Regions from separate parts of the Homo sapiens genome. Here region 2 is linked to region 1. Evidence: promoter capture Hi-C in human tissues and cell types (Jung and others, 2019). All regions are on one chromosome and are shown on one strand. The core of a region is centred on a gene start or on the middle of the fragment in contact, and the rest is flanking DNA. Distances in the headings are between cores, read along the strand shown. Region 1 holds the start of MTMR11 (myotubularin related protein 11). Region 2 overlaps LINC02988 (long intergenic non-protein coding RNA 2988).

Region 1 (3,331 bases), core at 106-2,605:
TGCCTTGGCCTTCCAAAATGCTTGGGATTACAGGCGTGAGCCACTGCGCCTGGTCCCTATTTTCTTTTTACAACAGACCTTGGGAAATATTTTCTTCCCCCAAGAGGTTGAGGCCCATGGAATGCATTAGGGGCAGGTGGGGTGGTGGTGCTCTGTAGCCTTTAGGACTTCTAGAATCAGGCTTCTGGGCCACCTTCTTAGCAGGTGTATACCTCTTTGTTCCAGACTGACTTTCTGTCTCACAATATCTTCACTATTTCCACAGTTGCAGCCAAGACAGGAAACTGAAAGCTGAGGCCAGAAGGGTGGTGTACTGGGGGGAGGGGAAAATTGAGTGTCACTTTGGAAAACTGGGGCCCCCATCTAAGGATTGCTGCCTCTGTAGATTCAAAAGCAATAAAACAGCAGCTCATTAACTCTTATTTTGTATTTTATTTTCTGTCTTTTTCATGTCTAAATAAAGATTTTTGCTTTGCTGTCCCCAAGTCCCCCTCCTTTAAAGGAGCTGCAGCTCCTTCTCTCCTTGTTCCCAGCTTTCCTTACCCATCTTTGCTTCTAGGGTTGCAGATGGGAGGGACGGGGGATGGACTGCTGAGCTGAAGAGAGGTTTCCAGCCCTCACCTGTGAAAGTCCTGAACATGAATCATTCATTTGGAGATCTGGTGTCTGGGTTGGAGGGGTGGAGTCACATACGGGAATGGGCACTTATTGCCTATTGGTTGTGTATCTACGTGATGGGCAAGATTAACTGGTAAGATCTTTTTGTCCCACCCACATCCCCAAGACTTGCACACAAACTGTACTTGTGTCTGCATCTTGGACACATTTCCATCTCTTTTTATACTTCTCCACTGCAGTCTTCACATGATGTCTGTGTCATGCCCTCTAGAGAAAGATATGCAAAACCACTTTAACCAGTTTCCCTGCTTCCTCACCTAATTCTTGGGCCTCTGCTGACAAAAATCCCCCCAGGTCTAATTTTCATTTTCTTCTGGAAGAGGCGGCAAGGAGGCTTGAACCACTTTCACATTCCTACCCCTCTCCCCGCCCCAAACCCCTTTGAGAAGACAAAAGAACGGAGCTTTTAAGGGAAGTCATCACTGAGACACTCCAGACAGGTAGCCCAGATGATTCCAGCTTCATAATCAATAGAACTGCTCCCCTCAAACGGTCTCCAGTACTCATGAACAGGAAGAGAACAGGGTCTGGGATTGGGGTAAAGAAGGGAGTCGTTTTTCTCTCAGTCCCCATTTCTTCCCCACCCGTCCGTCTCAGACTCCACCGTTTCCTCTCCACTTTTCCAGAATTGTGTGTATTCTCCTTTAAGGGGTTGGGCATCTCTCCCGCCCTCTCCAGAGTCGACTGAAGTTTCCGAGGAGACTTCTCAGGCTGGGCTGGACACACCTTTCCAAGGACCCCCAAACTCTGCTCCGTGCACGTCAAATGCTCCTTTCCCTTGTGTCCAACCCCCTACCCCTCTCCCTAACACCCCTCTTCTCAACAAGACTCAGCCTCTCCCCGAGGTGGGTGAGCATCCTTGAGGTTTCCCACCCTTAACTGCTGTGTCCCCGGATGGAGCCAGAGAAATGTGGTGGGGGGGCCGGGGCCAGAGTTTCAACATTGCCCCCCAGAAGGAGGAGCCAGAGATGGGGGTAAGGAGAAGGAATTTGGGGGGTGTCGGCAAGAGGGTGAGAACGGGGATGAGGTGGAGATAAAAGGGGGAAGCAAAGGCTCTAGAGGAGGAGGAGGAGGGTGTGTCTGTCTATCAGCTTCTGCTGATGGAGCCTGGTCCGTCTTTCTCAGTCTCAAGTTCGTTGTCTCATTATCCATTAACCAGCCCCTCCCTTTACTGTTTACCAGCCCTGTTAGGTCTGGAGCTCCCCACAGACACTGATCTCAGTTTCCCCCGAGAGTGTGAGTGTAGGCCTCTACAGGCAGCTGCCTCTGGGGAGTTGGGGAGCCTAGGGGTTAACTCTAGACCCCCCTCAACCCTCTGGACCAAAGTCTGTCCAGGAAAATAGGATGCCGGAGCCCAGGAGTCGTCAGCCTAGCAGTTGCCTGGCCTCCAGATGCCTCCCAGGTAATAATGCCCTATCACTCTCCAAAGACTTCCAAATTTCATCCTACGCCAATCTTGTTTCATGCCCTCACCAAAGATACCCCTGTGTTCCTCTCGTGGCTCGAAGTACGTCTGCCTGAGGCTCGCTGTCCTCCCTGACAGCCTCTAGAGCTGGCTGAGAGCTGGACCTTGACATTCCTTCTGTTTCCTTGACCCTGTTACCCCTTTTCAAATTTACTTATTCGATACATAGTTAGTGCCTGCTATGTGCCAGGCCTTGTTCTAGGCTCTGTTCTAGTTACAGAAATTAAAAAACATTTATCTTTCCTCATAAGCTTACATTGTAGTGGGCTTTGGGGAGGATTTTAATCTTCCCTATTTAGATCTCCCTTTCTTGGAGGGGTGGGTGTATCCAAGTGTGGGCAACACTGGGAACAGTCATAACAGGGCTTCCCTTCTTCCCCTTTAGGGGAGCAGATCCTAGCATGGGCCCCAGGGGTGAGGAAGGGCCTGGAACCAGAATTGTCTGGAACCCTGATCTGTACCAACTTTAGGGTCACCTTCCAGCCCTGTGGATGGCAGTGGAATCAGGTGAGATGGTTGGGGCCACAGAAATGACAGCTAGTGGGAAATGGGTAGGGGAGTCTAGCAGGATTTAGACAAACATTATGGGTTAAGGGCTGTCTTTTGAATGTATCATTGATAATCAGTGGGAACTCTCTCTAGGGTTGTTGCCCCCTAGAAGGGGTTGGGGCTGCCAGGGTAGGAAAATGAGGGCGATTTCAGATGTCTACCCAGTCACGTGTTTCGTCTAGGACACTCCCTTGAACAGTGAATACGATTTTGCCCTGGTCAACATTGGACGATTAGAGGCTGGTAAGTTGGGGGGGGGTTTGGTGAAGGGGTTCACTGGGGTTGTTGGAACTCCCTCCTCATCCTTCCTCTGTTCTCAGAAAACAGCAGGGATGGAGTGGGATGGGCTGCAAGAGTCCCTTCTGGAGAGACTCTGGTCCATGGTTACACTGTTCTGTACCTCTTGACTTCAGTGAGCGGCTTGTCCCGAGTCCAGCTCCTCCGTCCAGGGTCCCTGCATAAATTTATCCCTGAGGAGATTCTGATTCATGGCCGAGACTTCCGGCTGCTCAGAGTTGGTTTTGAGGCTGGAGGCCTAGAGCCTCAGGCTTTTCAGGTAAGAGGCCCCTAACCTGAGGCTTTCTCCTCACCTCAGAACCTTGGGATCCTCTCCCTGACAATTTCTGAGACTCCTCCAGC
Region 2 (3,468 bases), core at 514-3,013, 230 kb before region 1:
GCTGTATAAGTCTGGACTGTGCATGAATTGCGGTACAAGCGGAGTGCGGCCCTCTGCAGCCAGAGCTGGGTGGAGGCTGGGGCAAGAGGAACATTGTGTTTTTGAGTCCACTTCCCTATTTGTGCACAGAGTATTCCACTAGTGTTCTCTTCCCTGCCTCCCCCACTTGATAGAGCCAAAAACATTAGGGATGGTATTAGGACAACTGACCTGCATGCCAAGGACATAGGACAGGAGACTATGCCACTGCCTTGTTTTGCCACTTCAAATCAGGAACCTTAGGAGAAAGGGGCTGTTTGCTGTCATGGCTTTAATATCTGGAGGAAGGGAAAGAAAGAACGGACATGAGCCTACTATTTCTGAAAGAAAGGGGTGATTTCTGAGCCATCCCAAACCAGCAGGAAGGACAGGGGTGATAACCCCAACTTGTTCACAGCAGGAAGCAAAGAGGAGAAGGGATTTGGTGTCGGAGACCATGACAAAGGTCAAGAGTTCTAGTGCTACTTGCCTTTCTATGAGTTACTTTTCCTCATATTAAGTCCTTATGAAAGCCGCCTTATGTCCATGGTTTCTGTAGCTGCACCAGCCTCTACACTTCTGATAGTTCAGGAGGAGTTGGGAATCTGTATTCTCCAATTGCTCCCCAACCTTAATGCACTTAACAAGTGTGTTCTCCACACTTTTTAACCCTCCAAAACCCCGTTTTTAAACTGGTCCTGCTAATTTTTGCATTCTCCCCATCCTTGCTTCCAACCCCAGGGTTGGGGTGAGGTTGGGGTGGGCCATGTACAAGACTTTCTGGCTCTATCTCTCATTTCCTGAGCAGAGCTGGGCTGCACTAATTGACCTCGAGGGTCTCAGCTGTTCTAAGTGGGGTGTTTGTTAGCTCTTGTTAGGCTTGTAATTAGTGCAAGGAATCTAGGTCAGAGGCAACGGGTTGGAGTGATGGTCTCCTGGGGCACGACTAAAGGTGGGGAATAGCAAACAGCCTCCTCATTCTGTGGGTGGGACTTGTGTCACACAGAGACAAATAGACACAGGGTCACATGCAGAAAGGCGGTCAAACTCTGCTGTGTGTGCATGAGTATGTGCATGAGTATGAGTGTGTGTGTGTGTTCGCTCCTGCATTTACTCGGGTTTCTTTCCAACCTCTCCATATATGGCGTGGCTCTAGAGCAGGCTGGGGATTGGCTGCTCCTGTTGGGAGACAGGGAGGTAGTAAGAAAGCAGAAAGAGAAAGGAACCCAGCGTAGAGAAGGGAGTGACGAAGTGGGGGGTGGGGGCAGTAGCTGAGCTTGAGGGTTGCAGAAGTGGGCTGGGACTGCTTGCCTGTGAGGTTTAGATAGAAGAGAGATTCTTAGAGACTCATTTCCTGGGAGAATGAGGCAAATTTATTACTGGCAGAGGGGTTGGGAGAGCGGCTGGGGAAGGAGGCGAGAGCTGTTTCCCCAGGGACAGAGCTCTAGGCTCAGAACCGCATAGTATGTGAGGACCAGGGCAGGAGTTAGAGAAATTTGCACCTTTCTTTTCTCCCTGGTAAACCTATGCTGTGGAGATAGAAGGAAATCAACTCATCAGCGTTCCAGGCCAACACCCCAGACATTCTTCCTAATGGAGGGAGCCGGGACTGCAGTTCCTTTATCCCTCCTCAGGCCCCTGGCTAACAACCTGATGGGGAAGGACAGGAAAAGTTGAGGAAAGTGTCACTGAAATGAGAATTAAGATTTCGTTCTTTACCTGCCTCTACCCCTCACCCCCTCTCAACTCTGTGTCCTGGGTTCCACCCCTTACCCCGTCTCCCCATCCTAGGGCCTCCGGAGGGCACTTCCCTTTGCTTCATCTGTGTAAGAAAAGAAGGGAGCAGAGCGGTTGGGAGTGGAAAGGGAGGGAGAATAAGTGCACCCTGAAAGTGTCTGGGGGCAGCTGTGTGCTGAGAAAGTTGCCCCACACAGCTACTGAGCCAGCCCATTTGCCACGCATCACAGTTACCGGGGGCACGGAAGGGAAATATTGCAGGCAGAGGGGCTAAAATGATGAAGTGAGGGAGGAGAAGCACTGGGAGGAAGGGAAATGAACGTAAGCACCTTCCCATCCTCCTGTCACAGTGCCCAGGTTCAATACAAATGCTTCAACAGAACTCATGCCAGCAGCCTACCACAAGGGTGCACCTTAAGCGATTTTTCTAGTGGGAAGCCTGGTTCCATGCTAAGCTCTAAAGTTCTTGAAGACCAGGGACCATGCTTTCATCCCTTCTGGCTCTCTCCTCTGAAGAGAGAGGTCCAGCACAGCCTGTGGCCTGGATCTAGCTAAGTGACAGTGACCCCACCCCGGTGGCCTCATTCACACAGTGCTCCTTCCAACTGAGCTAGCGGCTCACTGCCCAGAGTCAAACCAGTAACAGTAGCTGCAGTGGTCACTTTCTGACTGACAGGCATTTTCCATATTGTCCTCACCCATCCAATAGCTCTGCAGCTTGCAGATGAAAAAAACTGATACTCGGAAAGCATGTGCCTTGCCCAGAGCCTCATAATCAAGAAGTAACAGAGTTAGAATTTGAATCCAGATCCATCTGGTTTCAAAGCTGGGCTCATTTCACCACCCTAGGGCCTGGATGTTCCAGTAACTGCTGGAGAACTGGAAGCTGTTGGTTTTAGAGCCTGAAGCCCAGGAGCACAGTGCCCAGCTCCTCTCTTACTGTTGTGAGGTCCCCGATCTTTCTTTTCTGCTTCTTTCACCTGTCATTCTCCTCTCTAGTGTCTCCCTCCATCTTCTGGCTCCCCTGGGAGCCACAGATAATTGACATGTTGGGATACACATGTCATTTGTGCTTTTGTCTTTTTTCATTATGTGGGAGCAACAAGGAAGAAAAAAAGAAAAGGAAAAATGCTGGTAAAATACAAAGATAGAGACTTGTAAAAAGAAAGCATAATTCTACCTTAGACTTCAATACTTGTGACAATGGATGGCTCTGCTGACCATGCTTAGGGCTGTGGAGAGTGCAGCTATTTGAAGGACAGGAAGTCTGGAAGCCTGGGTTCTCACCTCATACCCCAAGAGACCATAGAATGACATGAAGGTGGCACTCTTGCACACTTTCCCTCACTCAACTGGGATACACATTCTTCAAGGAAGAGGCTAGGTAACTACAGTCTAGAGCTGGGGACAATCTCCATGACAGAGTGGCAAGGGACTAGAGAGAGCAAGAATTCCTCTGCCCTAGGGATGGTTTAACAGCAGTGATAAGGTCCAGAGAAGAGCTGTGAAGGAAAGAGATGATTTCTGGAAAGGGGACAGAGGCCCCCATTTTGCTTACATGGGTTGTAGGAGTGACGTTAGAGCAGAAGAATGCGGACTGAAGAATCTGTTTCTCCCACAGGTTTTTCCCCCGCTTCCTCCTATCCCATCTTCCTATAACATCGGGGCAGCGTCATGGCCAGGTCTACATGTAACTTGGCCCCGTTTCCTCCC

Evidence for each region. The method cuts DNA at HindIII sites, captures the fragments that hold promoters and counts their contacts. A contact is called where the count stands out against the background at its distance.
Region 2: a contact is called between a fragment that was not itself captured here and the fragment with the promoter of MTMR11 in region 1, in 1 of the 25 tissues and cell types used here (bladder).

The regions. Positions count from the first base shown.
Region 1 is chr1:149,934,903-149,938,233 of GRCh38, reverse strand. MTMR11 (myotubularin related protein 11) reads left to right here and starts at 1,355. Exons shown (of 17, transcript NM_001145862.2): 1 at 1,355-1,652; 2 at 2,005-2,080; 3 at 2,529-2,650; 4 at 2,875-2,935; 5 at 3,106-3,248. The coding sequence starts at 1,587. OTUD7B (OTU deubiquitinase 7B) reads left to right here. Exons shown (of 12, transcript NM_020205.4): 12 at 1-422. RefSeq lists an enhancer at 1,565-2,089. The HindIII fragment of the contact is 18,071 bases long and covers 1-3,331 here.
Region 2 is chr1:150,161,045-150,164,512 of GRCh38, reverse strand. LINC02988 (long intergenic non-protein coding RNA 2988) reads right to left here. Exons shown (of 4, transcript NR_135098.1): 2 at 211-317. Among named protein-coding and RNA genes, the nearest start is that of LINC02988, 2.1 kb to the right of the region's middle. RefSeq lists an enhancer at 1,178-1,367 and silencers at 2,378-2,447, 3,036-3,105. The HindIII fragment of the contact is 7,641 bases long and covers 1-3,468 here.